4 separate regions of the Homo sapiens genome follow, and regions 1, 2 and 4 are each linked to region 3. Evidence: promoter capture Hi-C in 16 types of primary human blood cells and fetal thymus (Javierre and others, 2016). All regions are on one chromosome and are shown on one strand. The core of a region is centred on a gene start or on the middle of the fragment in contact, and the rest is flanking DNA. Distances in the headings are between cores, read along the strand shown. Region 1 overlaps LARGE1 (LARGE xylosyl- and glucuronyltransferase 1). Region 2 overlaps LARGE1 (LARGE xylosyl- and glucuronyltransferase 1). Region 3 holds the start of LARGE1 (LARGE xylosyl- and glucuronyltransferase 1). Region 4 overlaps LARGE1 (LARGE xylosyl- and glucuronyltransferase 1).

Region 1 (7,280 bases), core at 295-2,794, 610 kb before region 3:
CTAATAATGATGGTAATATTTAAAGTGTGATCATGATCTCATCCATCTCCCCCTTTACCTGCTGCTTGTCATGTCTTTGCCACACTGTGGCTATCATATTTAATCCTCATAGTAACTATAATATTGAGATTGTCACCACCCTCTTACAGGCAAGGAAGCTTAAGGGGGTGAAATAACTTCTTTCAAGTCACGCAGTTACAAAGTGAAGGACATAGATTCACATTCGGGTCTACCTCACCCCAAAGCCCGGATCCAGGTCATTATTTACTATGGATTGGGGTTAGGCTGAGAACAATGTTCCCAAATATCTTTGCTTCATTGTCTGTTTCCCCAAGTAAGAGCGTGTTCTTCTCCCGGTGTCAATGCCTCCCCACTCTTTCCCCTCCTCAGTCCCTCTTGGTATCTGTCTCAAAGTTCCACAATCCCCTCGGCCCTCTCCTCAGGTTCTATTTCTGCCTCTCAAACATGTCTTCACCTAATACATATTTGTTATTTCCAATGCATCGGATATACTATACAGATAAGGGGCCTGGGCACCGGCATTTCAGGAGCTTTTATTCTAGTGGGGAAAAAAGACAATCAACAAACCAGAGTTTGATTAGGGAGGTGATCAGGTCATGAAGGTGGAACTCTCATGAATGAGATTGGTGCCCTTTTTCTTTTCTTTTTTTTTTTTGAGACAGAGTCTCACTCTGTTGCCCAGGCTGGAGGCAGTGGTGCGATCTCGGCTCACTGCAACCTCTACCTCCTAGGTTCTCTCCCCTCATGTGTTCCCTAAGGGTCGTCCCCGTGCAGTTCTTGCTGATGCCAAGCTCTGTGGCCAGGCTTTCTTTTGCTGGATGAGTCCATGGAAGAGCTGACCCTAAACCCAGAAGGCCTGTCTCTGTCCCATGTTGGTTCCCACTACCCCATCGAGCCCACCACTGCTTCATCTAGGGAGGGGTGGGCAAAGGCTCAGAAATGTCTGGCAGATCTAAAAACAGGTGGGGGCTATTCCAGAGAGTCCCATTAAAGCTGGAAGCCTCACGCAGTCTCTGTAGTCATAAAGGAACAGGTAGGGAGACGGCCAGGTCAGAAACCCAGAAGACCAGGGCTGGAAGGAATTCTAGAGTCTCAGTGGGACTAAGCAGCCCAGGCAGTGATCACTCAGTGTCTGCTGGGATGGGGAACTCACACCCACCAAGGCGGACCATTCTAATCTGGTGCACTGCCCATGAGGCAGGCTGTGTAGCATATCACACAGCTTGCAACTGTAGGTTTTGGGGTCAGACAGGCCTGGATTTGTCCTCTGAGCTATGTCAGTATTCCTGGGCAAGTGACAGCTCTTTGAGCTTCAATTTGCACATATGTATTTTGGGGATAATAATGCCTTTGGTAGATTACAAAATAGCTATCAATCGTCCCTTTGCCTCTATCCATACCCTCTGGAAATAATCTCCCACATGAATCCTGGCCACATGACTTGCTTTGGTCCATGCGATATTAGCAAACATGACATGAGAAGAGGTGAGACAACCGGCTTGTACCTGCCGCCATGTGAACTAGCCCTACACCACCTTGCCCTGGCGTTCCCATGGTCCCTGCTGATAGCCAGACAAACCCCCGAAAAGCTACCTAGTTTACGGCAGACACAGGAATGAGCCCAGCAGAGTCTAGCCCACACTGCCAATCCAAAGAATCACAAGCTCATTCCAGTTCTTGTACTAAGCTGCTAAGACTCAGGGCAGTTTGTGAAACAGTAACATTTACTTGGATTTGAGGGTTAAATGAGATGATGATACAAAGTGTCTGGTGCAAAGCTAGATATACAGCAGGTACTCAGTATATGACAGCTGTAATTTCCTCCTTAGGTTCTATTTCTGCCTCTCAAACATGTCTTCACCTAATAAATATTTGTTATTTCCAATGCATCTGGTATACTATACAGGCAAGGGGCCTAGGCGCCTGCATTTCAGGAGCTTTTATTCTAGTGGGGAAAAAAGACAATCGACAAACCAGAGGTTTGATTGGGGGGTGATTAGGTCATGAGGGTGGAACTCTCTTGAATGAGATTCGTGCCTTTTTTTTTTTTTTGAGACTGAGTCTCACTCTGTTGCCCAGGCTGGAGTGCAGTGGTGCGATCTCAGCTCACTGCAACCTCCACCTCCCAGGTTCAAGCGATTTTCCTGTCTCAGCCTTCTGAGTAGCTGGGATTACAGGTGTGCACCACCACAGCTGGCTAAGTTTTCTATTTTTAGTAGAGATGGGATTTCGCCATGTTGGCCAGGCTGGTCTGGAGCTCCTGACCTCAGGTGATTTGACTGCCTTGGCCTCCCAAAGTACTGGGATTACAGGTATGAGCCACCACACCTAGCCTTCATGCCCTTTTAAGAGGCCCAGGGAGCTAGCTGGCTCCTTCCACCACGTGAGGACACAGTAATGAGGCACTCTCTGTGAGCCAGGAAGTGCCCCCTCGCCAGACACCAAATCGACCGAAGCCTTGATCTTGGACTTCCAGCCTCCAGCACTGTGATAAATACATTTCCATTGTTCATATATCAAATAATTTGTGGCATTTTGTTACAGCAGATAATGAGAAGGATCTGGCGTTGTGAAAAGTCTGGGGGGAAAGCTCTCCAAGAAGAGGGGATGGCCCTTGGGGTAACAATGGGCTCAGCATGTTCGAGCAGGAAGAAACAGGACCAGTGTGGGTGCAGCACAGGACGGTGAGGGGCAGGGGTGAGATGAAGGTGTCAGGGGTTGCACAGATGCCAGGCTGGATGGGCCTTGAAGACCACAGCAGGCGGGTGGGACACTGTTCCACATGTAACAAGAAGTCATCTGAGGGTTTTAATGATGTGACCTGATTTACATTTTTAAAACATCGCTCTGCCTGTTACATGGAGAAAAAATTACCTTTCACTCTCCAGAACGGTCAGTGCTTTCAAATGTAAGCTTCTTAAAGATCACCTGCGGGGCTTCTTAAGACCCCTATTTCCAGGCACCACCCGAGATTCTGGTTCAGGAGGTCTGGGGTGGGGCCTGAGAATCTGTATTTCTGACAAGCTCCCATGCAATGCTGTGTTGCTGGTTCCAGGAGCAGGCTTGAAGCAACGCTGTTCTAGAGAGTAGGGCTCTGTGAGCCCAGCCCATTCTCTCTCCTTTACTCAGAGAGAGCAGAGAAGTGACCTGTCATCCCCATGAGGCCCCGCAACTGTAGTCAACACTTAACATCTTTGTCAAAAACACACTAAAGAACCAGGCTCTCCCTGGTGTGGTGTCAGAAGATAGGTGAACCCCTCGTGATCAGCTCCCTCTGTCCCTTTGCCATTGGTGTCTTCTGCTGGGATGGGAGGGAAGGGTGCTGAGCTGCTGAAGGAGAAGCAGAACTCCTGGCTTCATGGCCATGGTTGCAACGTTCATTCTTTCTGAACGGAATTCCAGAGGGAGCTGCGTACGGGAGTGCGAAGGCCGGCTCTCCTAATTCGTTGTGGCATTCACGTAGGGCCTACTTCTGACTCGAAGGTTTACAAATATATCTGAAAGGTTTCTTAAATTAAAAATCAATCCAACAGGCACCAGTCCGCGTGCTGCATCATAATCGGATGTGTTGACAGAGTGGAAGTGGCTGCAGGAATTTCTACCATTCTTCATAAGCCTGCAGTGCCGCTTTATAATTTTTAATTGTGGCCCGTTAAGTGCCTCTCATTAGGGCTTGGCATCCCTTGGGTTCTCTTGAGATACTGTCCTGATGGTGATACATGTCACAATACAGGAGTGGGTATCGTGTGTCTGCTACGCTTGGGCTGTCCATGCTTTGAAGGGAAGACCGCTATGGTTGGTGTTTGCTGTATATGTGAGTGGGGCCCGGACTTTTTTTTTTTTTTTGAGACCGAGTCTCGCTTTGTTGCCCAGGCTGGAGTGCAGTGGCACGATCTCAGCTCACTGCAAGCTCCGCCTCCCGGGTTCACACCATTCTTCTGCCTCAGCCTCCCGTGTAGCTGGGACTACAGGCGCCCGCCACCATGCCAGGCTAATTTTTTGTATTTTTAGTAGAGATGGGGTTTCACTGTGTTAGCCAGGATGGTCTCCATCTCCTGACCTTGTGATCTGCCTGCCTCAGCCTCCCAAAGTGCTGGGATTACAGGCGTGAGCCACCGCGCCCGGCCCCGGACTTTCTTTTAAATGCACTGTGTCTGCAGCCCAGGCCAGAAGGATGGATCCCACTGGCAATAGAAGGAGGCACTTGGTTTTGTCTGTATTCTCTTCTTGCTAACTAGTGTATACAGAAGGATGGGTTTGAGCTGTTAATAACTAGAAACATGTTTGTTCTACTTGTTTGCAAATTCCAGATAGCAAATTCTATAGCCAGCAGAGAGGTGAGAAACATTAAGAAAAGGGAAATTAATATTTTCTCACATCAACTACTTACTAGGCACTTTACACCTTATTTTGTAGAACCCAGACAATAATCAGTGAATCTGACGTTATCACCATCTCGTAGATGAGTCAAGTGAGGCTCAAAAAGGCTAAGTAAGTCGTTCAAACTTACACAGCTAGGAAGTGGCACAAGTGTACTTTGAATCCAAGTCTTGCTTTTTTTTCTTTTCTACTACATCACTTTACCTCTCCTAAATAACTATCATGTGCACATGCCTTCGTAAGGATGTTCAGATCTAGCCAGTATTTACTGGATGTCAAATATGTGCTCAGGGCTTTTATAGAGGATCTCTTATTTACTCCTAAACAGGACCCTATGAGGCAAGTAATTTTATCCTTCTTTTATAGAAGGAGGAAACGGAAACCCAAAGATGTTAAGTGACTTGCCCAGAACACCAGCTGAGGATTGAATGAGTTGGTGGGATTTGAACCCGGAGCTCTCTGTCCTTCCGTCTAGTGCCTTTTTACCCAATATCACAAATATTAAGATTCTGGTCAACAGTACTGGTATCATTCTGGGAGCCTCTGAATGTATGTCAGGACTAAGCACTGGCACGCCTTCTCTCATCTGATCTTTGTAACAACCTTAGGGATGAGGATAATGATACAGTTACCACTTTCAGATCACAGATGAAGAAACTGAGGCTTAAAGAAGTTAAGTGATGCACTTTGGGAGGCCAAGGTGGGCAGATCACGAAGTCAAGAGATTGAGACCATGCTGGCCAACATGGTGAAACCCCGTCTCTACTAAAAATACAAAGTTAGCTGGGCCTGGTGGTGCGCGCCTGTAGTCCCAGCTATTGGGAGGTTGAGGCGGGAGAATCGCTCGAACCCAGAAGGGGAAGGCTGCAGTGAGCCGAGATTGCAACACTGCACTCTGGCCTGGCGACACCGCAAGACTCTGTCTCAAAAAAAAAAAAAAAAAAAAAAGTTAAGTGACTTGTCCAAAAACAAAGTGACAGGGCAACAAAGAACCCACAGTGCCTGACTCCAGGGACCAAGTGTCATTCACTGTTATGCTACTCTTTACTTTGATTAGAAAGTATATCAGATTTCTTTGGTAGCCACTGGCCACTAATATTGACTCAGAATATTTTGCTGATAATCTGAATGCATTATCAGGAGGCCTGAATGCAACAGAGAGCCAGTGATGGTTGGAGAAATGGGCACCTGGCTTTAAGTGAAACCCTCTCACTTGCATGGATTATAGTACCTGAGTTTCAGTTAGCTCACGGGAGGGGACAGATGCAGTTGAAAGAGACCAATCTAGACCATCATTCAGCACTGACATGGAGTATTCCATTTTCTTTTTACTATAAATGCCATGGAGGAGAAGGAAACACATATGTGAAAAGAGGGACTTTGTGGTGAGGTGGCTTCCTGATGCTTAGTGGTGGGGAGCCTAGGTGTCCAAACTGAAATCTGGGTGAGAGGCCAAAGGGACCTGAGAATTTTAGGGGTGACTCTGGGACACCAGTTGGGTGTCCCTATGGAGACACACAGGATGCCAGATTTGAGCTGGAAGGGCTGGCCACCTCCCCTGGTTTCCCTGAGGCCCTCTGTGATCCAGCCCTTGCCTACCTGGCCATGTGTATTTGATCTCCTCTTTCTCCCTCCTACACCCTAAGCCCTAACCACACCTTACTATTGTGTTCCCCACTGGCCCTGACGTCTTCTCTGTCCCGTGAACATGCTGCACGCTCTATCTCGGGGAGCCCTCCTTCTCTCCTTCTGTGCCTTCTACTCTCAGTCCACTCAGCCTCCAACTCAACTCAGGTACTACCTCCCCTCGGACACATTCCCTGCCTTTTCCTTTCTCCACTTCCTTGGGCTCTCATAGAATCGGTGCACCTCCTGCACGACACTCAGAACTAAACATCCTACTGTAGACCTGTTTACCTGTCAGTGACAGGCAGAGTTCTATGAGGGACCCCCCAGATTCCCGCCCCGCTGGCGGACATGCCCTGTGTTATCGCCCTCTTGGGTGTGGGCAGGGCTTCTGAATATCACATTGTGATCATGTGATGTTATAGAAGACTCCAGGGTCATGGGCCAGAGAGATTCTCCTGCTGGCCTTGAAGAAGTGGGCTGCCCTGCAGGGAGGGGGCTGCATGGCTAGGAACTGAGCGTGGCTTCGAGGAGCTGAGGGGGACACCCATCAACAGCCAGCAAGGAAATGGGACCTCCATCCTGGAACTGAATTCTGCTCCAACCCAAATGAGCTTGGATGTGGATGCCAATCCCCAGATGACATCCCAGCCCTGGATAATCCCTTGAGATTTCAGTCCTGAGACCCTGGGCAGAGGGCCCTGCTAACATCTTCCAGATTCCTGACCCATAGTGGCCACAAGGTAACAAAGGTGTACTTTTTAAGCTGCTCAATGTGTGGTACTTTGTCACCTAACAACAGAAAACGAATGGGGTGCCTGAGCCCCACATAGGCTGCATACTCCTTGAAGACAGGGATAGGTCTTTTAACACATATTCCCCTCCCACTAAGTGCCTGGTGCAGAACGGTGAGCGGTATTTGCCGAGTGATCATGTGGATGTGGAGATGAGAAAACTGTGGGCCCAAGAAGGGACAGGGCTCGCCAGGGCCCTCACAGCAGGTCAAGCATGGACCTGGTGCTAGAGCCTCCATGCTTGTCCCTTGCTCTTTTGTCCCATGCTGTCTTTACCTGTTACCTGCTAGGATCCCCAAGTTCTCTGTGCACAGGAGTCCCAGTGGCCTTTCTCCAAGTTCTTTTGGAGCCTGTGAATCCCCAAGAGACCGCCGGCCCCTGAAGCCATTGAATTATGCATGTGGTCATTTGCTTGCATGTGGCGGGACTCACAGAGCAAGGAATCCACTTCCCTGAGCC
Region 2 (7,368 bases), core at 3,263-5,762, 590 kb before region 3:
CCAAGGTGCTCAGAGAAGCTGGGGCTCCAACTCTGGTCTCCTGAAACCTAACCCAGAGCTTGTCCCTGTGGTTTCCACAAAGCAGTTACATCTTATTAAGCCACACAGACAGGCAGAAAAAGCTCACGACCTTCCTCGTTGCCTGCTGTGTGTATTAATCAACAAGTTCCAGGAACCCAAAGCATTTTTTTACTAAGGAAACCAAACTATGAGTCCATTTTCATTCTTTTGCAGGGAGGTAGGGGGCTGCATTCAGGACTGTTGAGTGAAGGTTCAGAGAGGGTCTGCCCAGCCCTGACCTCGACTTGGAGGAGATAAGAAAAAGGCTTGGTCTCCTCCCTCCCAGTTATCAGTATTAATTCACGCATCACATACAATTCATAGGCTCTTATTTTATGCCAAGTCTTGTGCTAGGAATGGGGAATGAGCTCCTGCTTCTGCACTTGTATTATTCCTATGGTCTAGGAGGAGAGGCAATGAAGCCAGTCACTAATTACAAACACAGTGCAATCACAACACAAACCTTAATTCTGGGGGGCCTTTGCCATCTGCCACATTGTTCTAAGCTCCTGGCCCTGTCTTACTTTATTGATTCCTCTTAAGTCTATCAGATAGGAATAACTAATTTCCATCGTACAGATGAGAAAACTGAGGTGCAGGGAGTTTAAGCAGATCACCAGGAATCCCACAGCTGGCAGTCCAGCTGGGATTTCACATGAGGCAGCCTCATTCCAGAGCTGCCTTCTTATCTACTGCACAAGTAAGAGATGCCACTTGAGAAAGGGAGATATGGTGGAAAGGAGAGGAAGGGAGGGAGCTGCTTTATAGACAAGGGAGGGCCGAACACCTGGCAAGTGCAGAGAGATGACAACCAGTGCCTAGAGGGGTCAAACAGGGCTCTGTGTAAGTTGCAGCTGAACAGGATCAAAGCAGCCAGGCCACAAGGGGAAACCGTGGCCCAGACTTGTATCCACTGAGTCTCTTGATCCCACAGCTCCTCTTCCCTTCACCCCCTCTCTCTGGAGCTTAACACATTCCTGGAGGGTCCTTTGGAGACTGGCCTTGAGCAGCCTAGCCTGTCTTAGGGTTTTGGGTCTGTCCATCCTGGGCTCTGCTGCCTGCTGCGTGACTGAAGAGTTGGCGACATGCGGCTCGCACGTGAGAGCAGGAATGCATTCTGGGCTTTCTCCGGGATTCTTCTGAGATACAGCTGTTTCCACAGAGCCATCTGTTTCTTGGCATTGTCTTGCAGGGTGATGCCATACAATGTTATAGAATCTGTTTATATGTGTCTTATTTTTAACTTCTAGTTGAGGTGATGCTGTTGTTTTTTCCTCTTAGCAGGCTTAGTGTCAGGGAACGTGGCCTTGGAAGTGGCCTGTCACCTTCATAGCGTGAGAGAGTTAAGCTTGGAAGCCTTCTTCATTTCAGAGGTGAGGCAGTGATCTCCCAGCAGTTGAGAGAGCGGGTATCCAAGACAAGCTTTCTGGAAAATACTCGTAACAATAACTGCCTAGATGGTGCAGCACTTTGAATACTTTAACCCCTTTAACTTTCCTCAAATAGCCTGGTGTGGGTGCATTTACTGACCATTTTACAGATGGGAAAACCGAGGTTCATGTAAGGCTAGAGTTATGCCTAAAATCATAGATCTGGTCTAGGGCCACGGGGTCTTGCTCTGTCGCTCAGGCTAGAGTGTGGTGGTGCCGTCTCGATTCACTGCAGCCTCGACCTCCCAGGCTCAAGTGATCCTCCCACCACAACCTCCTGAGTAGCTAGGACCACAGGCATGTGTGGTTTGCTTATTTTTCACAGAGACGAGGTCTCACTATGGTGCCTGGGTTGGTCTAGAACTCCTGGGGCTCAAGTGATCTTCCTGCCTCAGCCTCTCAAAGTGCTGGGATTACAGGTATGAGCCACTATTCCCAGCTTGGGCCAAATTTTCTGAGTCCAAGTGGAGGGATGCTTCTGGCACACCACAAATGCTTCAAGAAAAGGACTTGTTATAGTTCATTTGTTCAACAAGATTTATTGAGCATGGATCTGGTGCCAGGCACTCTTTAATGAAGATGTACTGATGAATAAAACAGATAAAAAGCCCCGTAGTCACAGAGCTTACATTCTAGTGGGTAGAGACATGATCAACAAAAATAAATAAGTCATGATTATATTAGTGATAAGTACTATGGAGAAAAATGAAGGAGCCCTGGAGAGAGGGAGTGCTGGGGTATGGGACAGGCATTGCAATTTTAGATAGAGGAGTATTTTAAATAGTCGTAGAGAGACCACTCAACTATGAATCAGGGCTTGATACCGGCTTCAGCCCTGCCACCAACGTGTTCTATGAATTCACCTCTCTGAGCTTCTATTTCCTTCTGTATAAAATGGAGATAACAGCAGTGGCTCGCGCCTGTAATCCCAGCACTTTGGGAGGCTGAGGTGGGTGGATCACGAGGTCAGGAGTTCAAGACCAGCCTGACCAAGATGGTGAAACCCCAGCTCTATTAAAAATACAAAAATTAGCCTGGCATGGTGGCAGGTGCCTGTAATCCCAGCTACTCGAGAGGCTGAGGCAGAGAATTGCTTGAACCCGGGAGGCGGAGGTTGCAGTGAGCCGACATTGTGCCACTGCACTCTAGCCTGGGTGACAGAGCGAGACTCTCTCTCAAAATAATAATAATAATAATAATAATAATAAAATAAAACAAATAAATAATAAAAAAGGAGATAACAGGAACTACCTTGAAGGGTTAGTGAAAGAGTAAGAAAACCGTATCCATATAACAACTAGGAGAATTGTGGAATAACCTGGATATATGTAATAATGTAACTTACTATTACATTAATATGACATACATAGCTACATCCATTTGGGAAGCACTTCCTTGTCTTGTGGCTTTAGAGTTAGGTAGACCTGGTTTCTAATCACGGCCCCAGCACTTAGGAGTTGTGTGGTCTTGAACAAGTAAATCATTTCTTTGAAGCCTTCCTTTCCTTATCTGTGAAATGTGACTCATAATGACTCCCACTCTTTGTGGTGAAGATTAAAGTTGTATTTCCCTTTCTCTTTCTTTCCCTGTAGAAAATTTCCAATTCCCAAAAGCTAGAGGCAAGCAGAGAAAGGTCTTAGAACAGCACAAAGAGCTGTGCTCATGCAGGAGAGACCAGAATGACTAATACCTATCGTAGGGATACCCAGCAGGCTTTGGTTCCCTGCTATCACTAGGAGGCTAGGAGACCAATACTGATTACTCAGAGTGCTGTTTTGAGGAGGATAAAGAAGCTGGGCATAGGTGAATAATGCAGTCATCAATTAGTGATGTCTGCTGTGGGCAGGGGTTGGAGACACTGGCTGTTGACTTACAATTCCATATACATTCAAAAATTCATTGGTGTCCAGTGTATTTTTTTTTTGTAGTTTGTGGATGTTTGGTATGTTTCATAATCTAGCTTTTAACATAACAACAGATCATTCTTTTACCATCAGTCTTTCTAAATTAAATACCTTTGTGGGTTTTTTTTTTGTGGGGGGAAGGGGGCGTTGGCTGCCTTGGAAAGAAGGAACAAGGAGGCGAGCCCAGAAAGGGTTGTTCTGAAGCTGATAAGCAGAAAGTGACAGCTGTCAGAAAGGAATCCACAGAATAAGCAGTGAACAGTCTGGGGCCATTTCCTGCCAGGTTAAACAGTATCTTTCCTCCTCTGGACAACCCCCTCCACCTCCTCCAGCCTTTTCAATGTAACCACAGTCATCAAATATTGTAAACTTAGTTTAATACTAAACTGAGTTTAGTGTTTGCTTACTAAAGGAACGGCATACACTTTAGCAGCAAGTTTCCTGTCCAAATTGGTTAAAACCCATCTATTTTAATGGTTTTTGCATTTAAAAAGATGAGGTTCCTTTAGTTGGAAATTCCCTTAGGTGGAGCAAGACCCTCTTGATGATAAAGCATCACCCTACAAATACAATACTTAGGGAGCATTGCATGTTTCTAAATAGCAAACTGAATGGAAACTTTCTATGCTATCTTCTGGGCTGTCAGGTACTAGGGAGGTGGAAGGATCCTTATTTCCTTATGTTTCATTAAAAAAACAGAACAACAAAAAAAAACCCAACAAAACCTAGACTCCAGAGGACAGGGCTCAGATCAGTGGGTTCTTTACAGAAGGGAATATTTCAGCCCAACATGAGGTAGAACAATTTAGCATCTGGAGCTTTCCAATAGCAGAGTAAGCTGCCTTGGAAGGTGGCTCTCTGTCTTTGGGAGAATTTCAGCAGAAGCCAGATGCAAGCCTATTAGGGATACTGTGGAAGGATTCTGAATAGAAAAAACGGTAGAGAATAGCTCTGATTATCCAACTATGTTCTGGAAGAGTCCTGGGGTTTCTTGGATATTCTTTTATAAATTTAATTTAATTTAATTTAATTTTAGGGACTGGGTTTTACTCCATCACACAGGCTGGAGTATAGCGGATCGATCATAGCTCACTTCAACCTTAAACTTCTGGGCTCAAACAATCCTTGTGCCTCTGCCTCCAAAAGTGCAAGGATTATAGGCATGAGCTACCGCACCCTGCCATTTCTTGGATATTCTTGAGGGGCTGGGTTGTTGAGGAAAAGGGAGAGAAATGCTAAGGTATAGAATTCTAACCTCCATCCCTATGTCAATCAATCAACTCATAATAACCAATGCATACCAAATGCTTACTGCACTACATAAAGAATTTACAAGTTCCAGGGAGAGATGCCCAAACTATGAGAGACAAGTGGCTGTGACCAATTAGCTACTGTCATTCCATAGCACTGGGGGAGCCTGTTCTCTTGCAAATCAAACTGTCTTGTCCTAGAGCAAGCAGCCCAACCAGTGGCTCTGAAATGGCGCTCTGCCCCTCACATCTTGGCTCCTTGATGAAGAATTACATCCCTGACTGGATGTCCTTATTTTTATTTTGGCAGCAAGGCAAACCAAATAGCCTCTTCTTCCTACCCTGAATTTCCGAATCAGTGGGGATACTGGGGATTGTTTGACTTAGAGCAAATGTGACACCCTCTCACATGCTTTACAGACAGATTTCTCAGAGACTCTACAGGTTCCCTTCTCTGCTACGTCTTTTTACCAGAGTTGCTAATAAAACCTAAAGCCTATGTGTGGAACAGTGGATTATGATCACATGGGTCAGGCATTGGGGTCTGTGAAGAAACTCATCCCAAGGCACACTGTGTTCCTGGTGCCAAGTCCTTCTTTTTTGGCCTTCAATTGTTCATAAAACCCCATGGCAATGGTGTCATGTACCCATTTCTCAGATGGTAAACCCAAGGCTCAGAGCATTTAGGTGACTTCTCTGAGGTCATGTGTCTATTAAATGAGCGATTCAGATTACCAGAGAGCTCATACTCTTGTTGTCATTATCAATTTCCCAGTGAAAAAGTTAAAATAATGCAAAAATTAACTTGTGCAGCTCTTTCTTTTCTTTCTTTCTCTCTCTCTTTCTCTTCTTATCTTTTTTTTTTTTTTTTGACGGAGTCTTGCTCTTGTTGCCCAGGCTGGAGTGCAATGGCATGATTTCGGCTCACTGCATCCTCTGCCTCCCAGGTTCAAGCGATTCTCCTGTCTCAGCCTCCCGAGTACCTGGGATTACAGACATGTGCCACCATGCCCAGCTACTTTTTGTACTTTTAGTAGAGACGGGGTTTCGCCATGTTAGCCAGGCTGGTCTTGAACTCCTGACCTCAGGTGATCTGCCCGCCTCGGCCTCCCAAAGTGCTGGGATTACCGGCGTGAGCCACCGCACCTGGCCTGTGCAGCCATTTTTATAGTTCTCACACTGACTTCATTTGACTCTCAACTCCCAGCAGGTCCTCGAGTGATCATGCTTGTGTTGGCTCCTGGTCTCCAGTGCTCATGTTGCTCCCTCCCACCCACCAAGTTTACCCTTCAGACTCCTTCACTCCTACTTATTCAACCTTTAAATCTCACCTCCTCCAGGAAGTCTTCCTCGATGCACCTTCTCTCCCTAGTTGTGTAAAATGCCCTTCCCGTGTGCTCTCAAAGCACTACCACTATTTTGGCACTAACCGCACTACTTAATAATCCTCTGCTTGTCTGTAACCCTCACTCAACAGTGACTGCAAGAGCCGAGCTTTAATCTGCAATGCTGCCTGCTAGAACACTAGCCCTGTGTCTGGCGACTACCTGAATTATCAGCTGGGTGGATGATATGGTTTGGCTGTGTCCCCACCCAAATCTCATCTTGAATTGTAGCTCCCATAATTGCTACATGTTGTGGGAGGGACACAGTGGGAGTTAACTGAATCATGGGGGCAGGTTCCCCCTATACTGGTCTCATGATAGTGAATAAGTCTCATGAGATCTGATGGTTTTATAAGGGGAAACCCCTTTCACTTGGTTCTCATTCTCTCTCTTGCCTGCCACTGTGTAAGACGTCCCTTGCTCTTCCGCCATGATTGTGAGGCCTCCCCAGCCATGTGGAACTGTGAGTCAATTAAACCTCTTTCCTTTATAAATTACCCAGTCTCAGGTATGTCTTTATCAGCAGCGTGAAAATGGACTAATACAGTGGATGAAAGGAGTCTTAAGTCACTTAGACACTGCCATCAGAGCCTGCTCCCATCTAGGATCTCAAGTCCAAAGAAGAGGTTCCTGACTTGGTTTCTTTCAGACTCACCACCATCTGTGCACTTATCACAGCTCTAATGACCTCTTCCCACAGAGCTGGGAGCATAGGCTTTGGGCTGGATCCAAGATCATACCCTTTCCCTCTGGTTGTGTCTGCAGATAACACTTGACGCGCTGCGGAAGACCAGGTGGTAAACTCCCTACAGAGCTGTGGTTCAGGAGTGCAATGTTTACAGACTCTCTCTTTGCCCCAGCTCCAGCCCCAGCCCCAGCCCCAGCCAGCAGAGGAACAGGGCTGGAGCAGTGTACAGGAACCTGCTTGTCTTGACTTATGAGTGCTAGCTGCACCTACTCTCATGTTCTTAGTACCCACAAAACAATCCATCTGCTCTCTCCATTCCCACCGCAACTGTCCTAGAGATCAGAGCCCCATCCATCATGTTTTTGCCTGGGATGGGGCAATGTCCTTTTTTTTTTTTGGACGGAGTCTCACTCTGTCACCCAGGCTGGAGTGCAGTGGCGTGATCTCGGCTCACTGCAAGCTCTGCCTCCCGGGTTCATGCCATTCTCCTGCCTCAGCCTCCTGAGTAGCTGGGACTACAGGCGCCCACTACAGGCGCCCACCACCAAGCTCGGCTATTTTTTTGTATTTTTAGAGAGACAGGGTTTCACCGTGTTAGCCAGGATGGTCTCGATCTCCTGACCTCATGATCCGCCCACCTCAGCCTCCCAA
Region 3 (6,694 bases), core at 3,969-6,468:
ATGCCCACCTACCCTCCCATTCTCAATATTCAAAACTCTTTCTTTTCTAACAGCAAAGGAAGTTTAGACTAGAACTGAAATGATCATAATATGAATCTTGTTCAGGTGTTAAACACAACCATAACTCTACCCAGAGCATATCTGATAAAATGGAATTTGTTCTCACCTAAGTGTTTTTTTTTTCATATTATATCATTTGTCAAGTAACATTGTCATTTTTCCCACTGCTGCATAATGACATAATGAAAGTGCCAGGTGTAATTCATGTACACAAGAGGGCAGACTTAGGGTTGATAAGGGACCCTTTCTTTATTTGCATTGCTAATAGTTTTTTAAAGAATAGGCAAAATGCTGTACGTAGAATGATAACGGACAAAAGAAAAAATTTTCTGTTTTTAATAACAATGTGGGATAACCAGTTAGCATGCTCAGATTTTATCTCGCAACCATTCTTGCCACTATTTGAATACACAGAGCAAGAAGCGGGGGCACAGTCCTCAGCATGGAATCTTATTAAATTATTTCTCTTCTAACACCGCGTTTCCCTCTTCGGGCACATCCCACCTTCCAGCCACACTAACTATGACTATTCTCCATACACACCACAATAGATACTTTAGGGTTTCCATGCTGTTCTTTCTGCCTGTGATCCCCTTCCTCCCTACTCTCCTGGGAAGTTCAAACTCATCCCTTGAACAAGTCTGCAGGATAGTACTTACCTGGTAATAATAGTTGAATGTCTGGCCCGGGCACGGTGGCTCACACCTGTAATCCCAGCACTTTGGGAGGCCGAGACAGGTGGATCACAAGGTCAGGAGTTCTAGACCAGCCTGGCGAAGATGGTGAAACCCCGCCTCTACTAAAAATACAAAAATTAGCCGGGCGTGGGGGCGGGCGCCTGTAATCCCAGCTACTCGGGAGGCTGAGGCAGGAGAATTGCTTGAACCCGGGAGGCGGAGGTTGCAGTGAGCTAAGATCATGCCACTGCACTCTAGCCTGGCTGACAGAGCAAGACTCCATCTCAAAAAAAAAAGAAAAAACAAACAAACAAACAAATAGCTGAATGTCTGCCTCCCATAAAAGACTAGAAGCTAAATGTAACCTGACTCTGTAACCTCCACACAGAGCATGGCACCTGCCACAGGGTAGATGGTCTATTATTATTTGTTAAACGAAAAGATGAAAAGTCTTATAAAATACATTTAACGAAGCCTTTCACTCGTTGCTGCCTGCTACTCTCCATACGCCAATGTGACAGAGAAATGCTGAACACCTCTCAATGGCAAATACTCCATGTAGAGCGACCTCACCAACACTAAGCAGATTTTCCAAGGTGGCTGTATCCCCGAGGTGTGTCAGTGGCAGGGTGTCTAGAGCTCTCAGCCTTTTGGGTCTTATATCCCCCACCCCCAATGCAGTATGCTCCTCCTTTCTGAGAATCTCTAGCCAAAAAGACACCTTCATCTTGTTCACGGACCGTAAGGAAGGCCAGCCTCCTGCCTCTACTTCTGCCACCTGGCTTCCATCAAATTCATAAGACTTCATTCATGTCTCAGGATGACAGCATATATTCTCCACAGGATCGGTCTTCAATCGTTGGTGCTCAATGGCAAATGCGATGGTATTTTCCTGTTCCAATCTCTTACCCCTTGGCTGTACTGTGCCCAAGAGAATCAATCTATAAAGTCTTAATGTTAGAAATAAAGCTGTCTGCTGACCATTTTTCCTAGACCACAACAATAGCTCCCCTTCAACTACCTAAATGTGCACTACACGTATGGGTAAAGGGTCACAAATGCCGTCTACCAGACCCCAGAGTTCAAGGGAAAAGTAATAACTCAGGTGGGTTCACAGGTTTCAAACAGAGTCTAACTCTACATGCTGAACTGGGCCTTTTAGAATCCAGTGTGACCAACATCTTGGTGATATCTGCCTGTTTTTGTGACAGTATTCTAAACTAAGCAGGCTCTTCTTGGCCTCTACCTTGCATCTTTCCTGTCTCCCCGCTACTCCCACCTCTGGGATCAGCTTTGATAAGACTTAGCTACTTGGGTAAACCTAGGCAATGGGGCAGTCAGTGTTCTTCAGGGAAGTAGAATTATCTTCCAATTCTGCTGGAAGGGCTGTGGACATTAATGATTTCATACTATTAAAAGTGCAGACAGCGTCTGAGGTGGAAGTGCAACTACACCGTCAAATGTTATGTTAACATCTCTAAGTATACGGAATGTATTTTTAAGGGGAATTTTAAGTTTGATGGAGTCCACTGCAGAGACATTTTGAAGCCATGTGATTTTATGATGACTGCAGGGAATATGCAGTCAAAAACCAAACACCAAAAGTGTTGATTACAAACTGTTAGGGAACTTAAAGTTAGGATGGTCTAATATTCAAAGGATAGAGCCTTTTTGTAGTCCTTAAATACTTAGAGATTATAACTGAGTCTTTTCAGAATGTCACATAACATTTTGCAGTTAACTGGTTCTGAGTTGTCCAAATGACAATTTAGATGTGAGCAGGCCCATCCCTTAGGCACTCAGAATCCACTCACTAGTGCAAGCATGTACTAGATCCCAAAAAGTTCATCTCAGGAACCCTCAAGATAAACCACAGTCTCACGAACCCTCAACATAAACCACAGGCTCATGAACCCTCAAGATAAACCACAGTAACATGGGCCCTGGTGTTTTCTTCTTCGATGGTGGAAAAGATAACTAGTCCCCCCTAGTGTCCTGCTACTGTAGGTGGCTGAAGGATGGCGACACTACAGGACGCACCCTCCCTGCACTGTGCATCAACTTTAAAGCGCAGCTCAGGAACCCAGAAACAAAGGAAACCTTCGTCACAACCTTCCCAAGAGATGGAAGCACTTCCGAGACCTATGATGAGATGAAAAAAACCTTTCATTTCATTTCTAAGGCCCTTCCAGGTATGGTTTAAAAGCCAAAGGAATCTGCATTGGCTCACATCAAAAAGTTAATCCACACCCCAGCACACTTCATTAAGTGAAGCAGGAGGGCCCACACTTGTCAGCAGCTACTGCTCACTCCAGAGCAATCCGATCTTCCCGTTAAAAACCTCTCTCTCCTGCCAGGGGGATTTGATTCCTTTCCTCGCCACTCTTGAAAACCCACTAACCTCTAAATCTTGGTGATTTTTGCCTCTCTGTTCGAGTGAGTTTTCTTCCTGGTATGGAATTAACAGGGACAGGCTCGATAAATGTGTTCTCCACAAGCAATTTTCACTAAAGTACTCTTGAACAATAAAGGTACACTAAGAGATGTGTGAAATCTTAAAGCTGGCGTTTTTATTTCTTTTATTTTTACCCCTAGGGAGGACCAAGCGTGCCAGTGAGTAATTCATTCATGTCACCCATTTGTGAGGGATGGGAGAAGAAACAACCACCACTTGTTCCCTTCTTAATTTAGAAGCTTTCCTTATCTTAAGTCTATCAAAGCTGACTCCTGAGGTGGGAAGACAGGAGAAGTGAGAAGAAAAATTAACCCGAGGTGACTGCCTCCACGGAATGATAAGCACTTCAGGTCTCCACACCTGTGTCAGAGAAGAAAGGCATCTGCATGTCAGGGAGGCGGACGCCCCCACCTGCCACCCCCTCCGTTTCTCCCCTTGAAGGAAGCAGGAGCCTGATCTCCCCCCACTCCCTCCTCTCTCTCTCTCTCTGGGCACTTACATAAGACCCTGTAAAACTTCCAGTGACATTCACGAAAAATGTAAGCTGCTATTTTGCTCCCTCAGGAGATCATTTTAATGGACTGAGTGACAAAATTCACGGATTCTGAATTCAGCAGAAACCTGCTCAACCGAGGCACATCAGCACAGAGACGAAAAAAAAAAAAAAAAAGAGTCCAACCCCATTAAACAGGGTCACCCAAGGGATGGATTCAGTGTGCAAGAGACAATCTGTTCCCTCCGAAGTGACCCATTTAAAATCAGATTGTTCTGGGGGAAGCTCACAGGTTTAATAAATTTCAAACAGGCAAGGACAGGCTTGTACAACTGAGGTTCCTTAAGAGGAACATTTAAAAGAGGATAAGGCAATGAACAAAATAACTTGAGGATACACAAACTTTGGAGTCCTCACTCCAAAACTTCAAAAGCAGTGACATTTACAAGAATGTCTGGATAGCTATACACTGATCACTCCTCACAAGCAGCTTTGACTAACAGGAAGGACATGCTGGCTGGGCTTCCCCCCTACAGATAGCAATGCCAACCAACCACTCTGTCCTAAAGAGGGACTCGCAAGCTGTGGCTGCTCGCCCCCAAATTGCGCAGGACTGTCTGCAAGAAGGAACAAGAAAAGTTATTCACAGCATCACACCACGAAAGGTAGTTGCGTACCGCCCAACAGGGCCCTCTCCAAACACGGCAGGCTCCGCGAACCACAGGTGCTCACCGCTAACAAGAGGGCCGGGGGTGCGGGTATCGGTCACATGCCCTCGTGGTGTTAACCAGAAACTCCTCCTGGCTCGCTCCCTGCCAGCAGCCTGTGTGCCCAGAAGCCGAGCAGGCCCTGAGGGGGTCCTGGGGACTTCGGAGACTGGGGGCTTCCACCTCCAGCCTCTCCAGGGCTCCCGGCCGGGGCAGCAGAGGGTGTGCCCGGCCTCCCCGCCGGCATCCCGAGTACAGGGGGTACCAGCCACAGGTTCGGAGAACTTGTCCGGCGCTACACACCACGGCGCCCCCGCGGCGACTCTCGCGCTCCGGGGCTCTTACCTTGGCCGTGACTGCCGCCAGGCAGAGGGAGACACGGAAGAACAGGGTGGCGCGGCGGCGCCGCCGCCTACGAGGCGCAGGGGGTCCGGGTCAGGGTCCCGGCAGGCGCTGCCCTACTCGGAGCGGCGGTGCCAAGCACAGAGTTCGGGACTGCCCCCGGCTCCAAATGCCGCGGCGAGGGTCCGGGTCCCCCAAGCTGAGCACTGTCCCTTCTTCCTCTTCCTCCGGGGCCGCTGCCTGGAGCTGCTCCCGGCCCGGGGGACTCTTCCGAGCCAGGGGCGCCCCGCATGGGCAGGGGCCTGGGTCAGCCTCGGGTTGGGTCCAGGGAGCGACCGCCGGGGCCGACTCCACCTCCCGCGCTCCAAGCCGATTCGTCCCTTCAGGGCAGGGCCTGCCCGCGAACAGCCCGGCGAGACGAGCGCGGCCGCGCCCCCAGCTTCGGGCGCCCGGGCTCCGGCGCGGCGGCGGGGCAGGAGCAGACTGGCCGGGCCGGGCGCCGAACGCGGCGGCGCGGGGGGGGCTGCAACCGGCCGCGGCGCGCTCTCCCCCAGGGCCTGCGCCGCCCGCCCGCGGCTCCGCGGGAAAGAAGCGCCGGAAAAGGCCTCGCCCCGGCCTGGGGCGCGGGGCCGGGGGCGCGGGGCTAGGGGAGGCGCCCCGGGAAGGTCACGGGAGCGGAGGCGCGGCGAGTGGATCGCGGCGCGGTGGGTGCGGGGAGCCGAGGCGGGCGGCCCCCGCCGCCGGGAGCGCTCGCCGGCCTTGGCCGCCGCCGCCGCCTCCGAGATGCGCCGGCTTCCCGGAGCGCCCGGCGCTCGGAGCTGGGCGGCCGCTGCAGCCGCCGCGGGCAGCCGGGCGCCGCTGGCCGGAGCCGGCGCGCGATCCCCGCCTCCCGCGCCCGGCCAGGAGTGGGCCGCCGCGCGGGAACCGGCAGGGGCGGGCGCTGGGGTCCGGGCTCCGGGCTGGCCCCGCCGCCTCCGCGTGCCCAGAGCGCCGGACTCGCTCAGCAGCTGCAGTGACTGTGTGTCTGTGTCATGTCTGTGCAGCCGGGGGGGACCGCGAGCCGGGGCTGGGTTCCGAGCGGGGGCGGGGCCGGCGCCCGCGTCGGCGCCCGCCCCCGACCCCGTGACCGAGCGGCCGGCCAATGGCAAGCGCCGCAGCCGCGCGGACCGAGAGTTCGCCCCCGCACAGGCTCCGCCCCCCGGCGAGACTCCGCCCCGGTGCTTCTTCAGCTCGCTGGCTGGCAGGCAGGCGGAAGCAACACCCGGAGCCGGGATCCCGGGCCGGGTCGGGATGAAAGGGTGCAAGCTGGGAGCTCCCCGCCCTTCTTCCCCCAACCCCGGCGGCTCCCGGCCGCCTCGGGCTTGGCGTGCCTCGCGGAAAAAGGGGGAAGGGAAGCGGGACGGGCCCGCAGCTGCCGTGGTAGAGAGGCTCGCAGGCTTGCAGGACCATGCAGCCTGCTCCCCAAATTGCACAAAACAGCCGTCGTGAGAAGTAGGAAGTTTCCCCGCCTCGGGTCGCAGCTTCTCTCGGAGGTGGGCATGCTGTGGGGCAGCCGGAGTCTGTGAGGAGCCCCGCCGAAGGGCTCTGACGGCATCTTTCTGGGATCGGTATCCAAGAATCCTGTCCAAGGCTTCCTCTTCCTCTGAGGAAACTACATTTCTTTTTCCTCCACCCCAAACACACACCCCATGCACGCACAACACGCCCCTCCCCTGCTGATTTTATTCTCGCTCTTTCCCTCTTGGCATAAGAACCCGGCGCGCAACATCCCTTGAATGGACTTCCAGCCTCCCAGTTCTAGGGACCAGGGTGGGGGTACGGAGAGTCCTCCCGAGCCACAGGAGAAGTGGGTGAAATGGGTCGGGGCACAGGAGCGGGGGTGTGAGAATGGATGGAAGGAGGATGCCCTCGAGAGAAGACCCAGAGGAGGCGAAAGCAGAGAGGCAGGGAGAGAAAGAGG
Region 4 (7,592 bases), core at 269-2,768, 630 kb before region 3:
CCTGGTGCTACGGTGGCATGGAATTACCAATCCTCAACCTGACCCTGGCTGTTGATCTCTTTCACATACATACACACCTCCCTCCCTCCATCTCATTCTCTCTTTTTAACTCCATCCTTTCCTCTAGAGGCAGGTCCCTGTAACCAGGGAAACAGCCCAGGTTCCTGGCATGAAGAGATTACGGGAAAGTGTCTCGGAAGACATAAGGAAACGCCGTGCACTGCCTAGTTCTGACAACTTCACCTCCTCGGAGTCACAGTGGTTCACATTCTAGAGGCAGGCTGCTCGGGTCTGCATCCTGGCTAACTACTTAATTAATCTCTTGGTTCTGCAATTTCCGTATCTGTAACATGGAATATCTATAAAATGGGAGTCAGGTAGAACGAGAAGAGGAGCCAGCAATGGGAACTCCTGGGAGGGACCAAGAAGATTGAAGAACCACAAAGAGACTGCGATGAGCACCTAAAAGCCAGGAGAAAATAAAACGTGTGCCATGGAGGAGTCACCGGCAGTTGGAGGTGGCTGAGAAGTCAAATGAGATGAGAGCTGGGGGCTGGCAGCTGGGTTTGGCAACATGGAGGTCGCTGGTGGCATCTTCCCTGACTGCTAGCATCTAGGGCACCAGTCAAGTAGGTGGGTGTGAGGGCCATGGCCATTTAGAAGTTCCCTTCCCAGCTAGGCGCGGTGGCTCACGCCTGTAATCCCAGCACTTTGGGAGGCTGAGGCGGGTGGATCACCTGAGGTCAGGAGTTCGAGACCAGCCTGACCAACATGGTGAAACCCTGTCTCTACTAAAAATACAAAAATTAGCTGGGTGTGGTGGTGCGTGTCTATAATCCCAGCTACTGAGGAGGCTGAGGCAGGAGAATCGTTTGAACCTGGGAGGCAGAGGGTGCAGTGAGCTGAGATTGCACCACTGCACTCCAGCCTGGGCAACAGAGCGAGACTCCATCTCAAAAAAAAAAAAAGAAGTTCCCTTCCTCACCTCTGGTTCTGCAAAAATAAGTCAACACAGTGCAAGGCTGGATTGCTAATCAGGAAAAGGATCCATGTCACAACGCTGGCCAATTTAGTTTCATCTTAAGTGTCTAGAAAAATTAACCTATGTTGGTCCACAGGAGAGGATATAAGGAAAACTCTACGACCAACACCTAACTCCTTCACAGTGAGTGAAGACCCGGGAGAAGAGACCCTTGTGGTCCAATCAGACCCATCCTGGAGTCCCACAATGGTCACGATTTGCCTGAAAATGGGATTCCAGTTACTTGCCAGTTTCCACCAAAGGAAGAACTCCCTAAATCCTGTCTGTCTACCCTTATGCATTCTCCTCTATTCAGCATTCCCTGAAATAACTTCCTCCTCTCTCACTGGTGCGTGCTTAGGTATTGTGCTATGGTGTCCCCCAACATTCATGTGTTGGAAGCTTAATTCCCAATGCAGCAGCAGAGGTGGGGCCTTATGGGAGGTGTTTAGGTCATGAGGGCCCCACCCTCATGAATACATTAATGCATAATGTATTCATTACATTAATACATTTAATACATAATGTATTACATCAATACATACATAATGTATTACATCAATACATTTAATACATAATGATTAAAAAAAAAAAAGCTTGACAAGAGAGAGTTTGGTCCCATTTTTTTTGCCTTTCCACCTTCTTCCACGTGAGAACATGGCGTTCCTCCCCTCTGCAGGATGCAGTGTTCAAAGAACCATCTTGGGGCCGGGCGTGGTGGCTCACACCTATAATCCCAGCACTTTGGGAGGCCGAGGTTGGGGGATAACCTAAGGTCAGGGGTTAGACACCAGCTTGGCCAACATAGTGAAACCCCGTCTCTATTAAAAATACAAAAAATTAGCCAGGCATGGTGGCACACACCTATAATCTCAGCTACGCAGGAGGCTGATGCAGGAGAATCGCTTGAACCAGGGAGGCGGAGGTTGCAATGAGCCGAGATCGTGCCACTGTACTCCAGTCTGGGTGACAGAGTGAGACTCTGTCTCAAAACAAAAACAAACACAAACAAACAAAACCCACAAAGAACCATCTTGGCAGCAGAGAGCAGCCCTCCCAGACAACGAATCTGCCACCAAGTTTGTTCTGACTTCCAAGCCTCTAGAACCATGGGGAATACATTTCTAAAAAATTACCCAGTCTCCAGTATTCTGTTATAGCACCACAAAACGAACTAGGACATATTACAAACCCAATTTGATGCCATCTTCAAGAAAACAAAATTAGAAAAATAATCCATCACTGAGGTTAAGAAAAGGAGAGAGCACAGTCAAATTTAAACAGGGACAAAGGATTCTGGAAGTATCTCTTTTTTGTGTCTTTCTATACTGGGGGGTTTGGGGGGCAACCTCAAGCAGCTGCAGGGCCAGGCCAGTGATGTGGATAATGGTGCAGGCTGATGGGGAGAGAGCACGATGTTCAATGGCAAAGGATGCCAGGCTTACATGTCGAGGAGACAAAAGGGAGAGGGGAGAGCAGGGGATGGGATAAACAGGAGAGTCCACGCCTAGCTGCTCCTCAATTCCAGCTGTGTGCCTGACATATGGGATTGGAGCCACAGAGTCTGATATTTCAAGAGGAGCCAACTGAAATTATCTTCAGCACACCTGATGGCTGGGTACCTCTCGTGGCATGCCAGTTTGAAGGGAGGCTGAACAGTGAGAAAAAAAGAGCATGATCTTTTTAATCGGATGATGTAGATTCCATCTTAATTCCACTACTTCCCTAACTGTGCAATCATGGGCCATTTTCTTAACACCCCGGGCTTTTGTTTCCTTATCTTGATAATAATAAATGCTTTATGGACTTGGTGATTAAGAGAACTAAGATAATATATTCATCAATTAATGAATATTAATGAAGCCAACACCTAAACCTTGGGCACAGAGCTAAATGAACACATATAACTTTGTCCATGCATAGCTCACAGTGTAGGGAGGGAGGAAGACAGAAGCATACTCCTCTCTGTGTGCAGAGTCATGGAAGACTTCTCATCACTGAGATGTGTTCCAATCAAGAAGCAGGAGTTAGCCAGTCAGGAAAGGGTGTTCCAGGTTATTTGCAAAGCTCTGATAACGAGAAAGCATATAGGATTGGAGAAACTGAATTTCTCAGCACCTGCCTGGTATACTGTAGGTGGTTGATAAATTATAATAAATGCTTACATGCATTGAGTTTCAAGCCCCATGCTAAGTGCTTTATATGCATTACTTCTCTTAATTATTGCAACCTATGACTTACATACTCATATTTTCAGTTTAATGATAAAGATATTAAAGTTCTGAGAGGTTAACAAGTAACTACCACACAGCTAGTAGTTATCATCATCATCATATAATGATATTAATGAAGTCTGCACCAGCTTAAAATTAAGCAGGAAAGATCAATAACCACAAGATGTATTGGGACCAAGTCTGTTAATGCAGTGATTGTGTCTGTCTTCCCAACCTTGCAACTGGAAAAATGAACTTCTTTGAGTTCATGGGTCAAGGCAGTAGTGGGAGAGTGGTTAGGAATGGCAAAAAGGGAGAAGGCAGGAGGCTACGATCTGTGTACCTATGCTCCTTAAATGCAATCTCATCCACATGGCAGATTCCACCTTGAATGAGCAAAGTGGAGCGGAGGTCAGAAAACAAAGAGTATTATGAGATTGGGAACATGTGTACTGATCCTACATGTCACTGGCTTATACTGAGCCTCCTATACTGGCTATTTCCTTTCATTACCACCCATGAGTCTCTCAAACTATTATAATCTGTCTTTGACTCTGTGGATCTGGCCAAAGTCAGCAATGTCCCCTCACTGTCAAGTCTAACAGATTTATCCATTCTCACCTTGTTTGAATTATCTCTGCATTTAGCACTAATGACCACTCCTACTAGCCTTATTTCAAGAAGCCCATCCCATAATTCTGAAGGCATCTTTCTACTCTCTCTTTTCTCACCAGGATGACTGACTTTCAGCCCACTGGATGCTGGTAACCATTTGGGACCTCTTGTGGCCCCTACTCCTCGGGCAGGGGTTGGGGAATTCCCCATCTCTGCCACTCAGGTTTCCACGCCTGTAACAGAAATGCCCGTGCTGACTTCTTTGCGGTGTTGCAATAAATGGCTGAGGCCAATGCTGACAAGTGACAAACTATTGGGAATCGCAGGGCTGAAGGCACTGGGGCTGCTGTCAGAATGCTGGGAGAGAACCAGACTTGTCAGCTCTCGGAGCCCTGGGTTTCCACAGCCCTGTTCTGCAGCATCAAATGTCAGAGAGCCCACTGTTTAATCAAACCTGAGTCGTAAGAAATCCATGTGGTTCTCATACAAGTTCCCAGGGACTCCTATGAAAGTTATATTAAAAGGGGACAGGAGGAGATAAAGAAACCTGTGCTGGAGTGTGCATCTGTTTCAGAAACCCTGGAACAGCACTGATTTCTCTCAAGATTTAGTGCATAGCCAGTTAGAAAAACCGGCCTCCCCGTACCTCCCTTCCCCACCTCCATGGGCCTTGATGTGTCTCCTTTCATGCTCCCCTTCATGTTGGGTCTGCATCTTCTTTGGGACTGGTTCATCCTAGACTGTTTCGCTCACTGGTGGTGGCTGCCTGTGCATGTACCTCTCAGCCCTGCTGGGCTTGAGGTCTGGGGTGAGCCTCTGTTCATGGTTACGTTTCCAGGTCCTGCACAGTGCCAGGCAAACGGTAGGCACTCAGTAAGTGTATAGGGAATGGAGGAATCTATTTGTAACTGCCCTATGCGGTAGAGAGGATGGGACTGTGAAGAGGCCTCTTTGGAAATGACAAAGACCTGAGTTGACACGATAGCTCTGCCACTTAAATACATATGACCTTTGGGCAAACTTAACTTCTGTGTTTTAATCTCACTTGTATAATGGGAATAAAAGCACTTATCTTTGACTAGGTTGTCCTAAAAAAGATAACATTTGCCCAGGGCCTAGCACAGCACCTGCCACGAGACAGGGCACTTATAAACAGTGTTTTTTCCTTCCTGGGTCCTTTACAGACGGTCATGCACTCATATTCTCGTGGATGCTCGTAAGAAGTGGATCAGCCAGTGGGGGTTAAAGAGAAAGCAGAGGCCTGGGTCTGAGATGCACCATCATTTTCTTATTTTAGCTTATTCCTGGCAAGGTGTGTGGGCATGAACCAGTGAGCTAGTGATGTGTGATGAGAAGCAGCAGGGCCAGTGCAGACACAGGTGTGATCAACCAGTGAGAGGCAAAGAAGGGCACACATGTGTGTGTACATGCGTGTGGGTGCCTATGTGACTTTGGGAGACTACGAGAAGCCCTCTTGTCTCCAGCTGTCCCTCATAGCTGTTTAAACTGACTAGCTTCAATAGTGCTAGACGTAAGCATGGCTTTTGACCAAGGCAATGGGAAATCATGTGAATGACACCTGAGGATTTAGCAATCTACCTTAGGGTGACAATACGTGGGCAGAGAGGAAGGAAGGAGCCACCTGTGCTGCTCACTCTGGAGGCCACCTCAGCACAGCCCTGTCCTCCTCTTGTCTCATCCCTAAACATAAAGGCCAGGGAATAGGGTTTGCTCGATTCTACTCCAGTTGTCTAGGAAATGAGCTCTTGGCTGACTGGCTTCCAGGAGCTTTGTGGGGACAACAGCAAGGACTTGCAAATGAGGGAGACAGGGCAGCCCACAGAGTGCCACTGTAGAATACACACATAATACATGAGGTCAGACATGGGCATGTCATCTGAGAGCCAGATGGGCTCACAGGCATGAGCAAGATCCGGTGATTCCTTAATGGGTGGCATTAACATTTCCAGAGGAAGAACCTGTCAGTCAGAGAGGGGCAGGTGAGAAAGAGAAGCTAAGAAGGAGCTTTTGGGGTAAATTTTACAAATAAAAAGTAGTAATGATTGCCATAGTTTACTGAGCACTTGACCATGTGCGAGGCTCTGTGCTAGAGACTCTGTCTCCACCATCTCAGGTAATGCTCAACATTCCTGTTTAATTACCCCACTGTCCTGATGTTTACTGTTAGTAATAATAGCTAAACGTTGTAGAGCACTTGCCACGTACTGGCATAGAGTTAAACGCTGGCTGGGGATCACGGGGGCCTGGCACTAAGGAGGGCAGCTGTGCGGCAGACTGCCTGGATTCAGATCCCACTTGCATGGACACTCACCAGCTCATACTCTTGAACACGTTACAACTTTGTGCCACAGTTTTCTTCTCTGTGAGCTGGGGACTGTATTAGCAGCTGTGCTGTGTGACTTTGTAAGAACTACATGGATTATCTGGTGCAAAGATTAAAATAGTTCCCTGGTGTATAGGATACATTTGGCAAATACAAGCCATGATGATGGTCATGGCCATCACGATGAAGATAAAATGGGCCTATCGGGCAACTGGATCAATAAACAGGCTAAGCATAGAACACCTATGGATAAGCCTAAGATGAGCCAGTTATCCTTTTTCTTTTTTCTTTTCTTTTTTTTTTTTTTTTGAGATGGAGTTTCTCTCTTGTTGCCCAGGCTGGAGTGCAATGGCGCGATCTCATCTCACCGCAATGTCTGCCTCCGAGGTTCAAGCGATTTTCCTGCCTCAGCCTCCTGAGTAGCTGGGATTACAGGCATGCACCACCACGTCCAACTAATTTTTGTATTTTTAGTTGAGACGGGGTTTCTCCATGTTGGTCAGGCTGGTCTTGAACTCCCAACCTCAGGTGATCTGCCCACCTCGGCCTCCCAAAGTGCTGGGACTACAGGTATAAGCCACTGCGCCCAGCCCGCCAGTTATCCTTTTAGTACTGCTGTGCCCTTGGGCATGTTACTTAGCCTGAACGTCCTCATTTGTAAGATGAATTGTGGTGAGCCTTAATGGTAAAATACAGGTGAAAGGGCTCATAACAGTGCTTGGCGCATAGTAAGTGCTCAGTAAATGTTGAATGTTATAGATACAGCAGAGTTAAGACAATGAATGGGCCCAAGGAAATGTTACCTGGTAATGTCTCTGGGCAGGCAGCCAGTCAGCTTCACCTGGTGCCACCTCTACCTGGCTTTGTTCACATGTCTGCACTCATTCAACAAGTATTTATAGAACAGCCATGATGTGCCAGGGAAAATGTAAGGGGGTAGGTGGTTAGATGTCAAGCTGGGGAGAAAAGAGTCGAACAGAAATCTGGCATTCCTACACAGTGTCAGAATACAGTCTCTACCCAGTGTGGCCTATTTGTCCTCAAGAAGGGGGCTGGGCGCAGTGGTTCACACCTGTAATCCCAGCACTTTGAGAGGCAGAGATGGGCAGATCACCTGAGGTCAGGAGTCTGAGACCAGCCTGGCCAACACGGCAAAACTCCGTCTCTACTGAAAAATACAAAAAAAATTAGCCAGGTGTGGTGGCATGTGCCTATAATCCCAGCTACTTGGGAGGCTGAGGCAGGACAATTGCTTGAACCTGAGGGGCAGAGGTTGCAGTGAGCCAAGATCGTGCCACTGCACTCCAGCCTGGGCGGCATAAGACTCCGTCTCAAAAAAAAAAAAAAAAAAGAAGGGTTTGTCCCCAAGAAGGCAAAAGGCAGTGAGGACAGTAGAGAT

The links. Contacts are between HindIII fragments. The CHiCAGO score rates a contact against its expected background, and 5 or more counts as called.
Region 1: a contact is called between a fragment that was not itself captured here and the fragment with the promoter of LARGE1 in region 3, in 2 of 17 cell types (naive B cells and total B cells). The highest score is 12.8, in naive B cells.
Region 2: a contact is called between a fragment that was not itself captured here and the fragment with the promoter of LARGE1 in region 3, in 1 of 17 cell types (naive B cells). The highest score is 5.4, in naive B cells.
Region 4: a contact is called between a fragment that was not itself captured here and the fragment with the promoter of LARGE1 in region 3, in 2 of 17 cell types (total B cells and naive B cells). The highest score is 7.0, in total B cells.

The regions. Positions count from the first base shown.
Region 1 is chr22:33,307,112-33,314,391 of GRCh38, forward strand. The region is part of intron 11 of LARGE1 (LARGE xylosyl- and glucuronyltransferase 1); the gene reads right to left. Among named protein-coding and RNA genes, the nearest start is that of MIR4764, 130 kb to the right of the region's middle. The HindIII fragment of the contact is 2,776 bases long and covers 157-2,932 here.
Region 2 is chr22:33,325,912-33,333,279 of GRCh38, forward strand. The region is part of intron 10 of LARGE1 (LARGE xylosyl- and glucuronyltransferase 1); the gene reads right to left. Among named protein-coding and RNA genes, the nearest start is that of MIR4764, 110 kb to the right of the region's middle. The HindIII fragment of the contact is 6,065 bases long and covers 1,481-7,368 here.
Region 3 is chr22:33,915,258-33,921,951 of GRCh38, forward strand. It overlaps LARGE1 (LARGE xylosyl- and glucuronyltransferase 1), which reads right to left and starts at 5,219. Exons shown (of 15, transcript NM_133642.5): 1 at 4,738-5,219. It overlaps LARGE1-AS1 (LARGE1 antisense RNA 1), which reads left to right and starts at 5,968. Exons shown (of 2, transcript XR_001755630.2): 1 at 5,968-6,266. RefSeq lists silencers at 4,747-4,846, 5,117-5,266, 5,587-6,086. The HindIII fragment of the contact is 4,427 bases long and covers 3,430-6,694 here.
Region 4 is chr22:33,290,084-33,297,675 of GRCh38, forward strand. The region is part of intron 12 of LARGE1 (LARGE xylosyl- and glucuronyltransferase 1); the gene reads right to left. Among named protein-coding and RNA genes, the nearest start is that of LARGE1-AS2, 130 kb to the left of the region's middle. The HindIII fragment of the contact is 194 bases long and covers 1,422-1,615 here.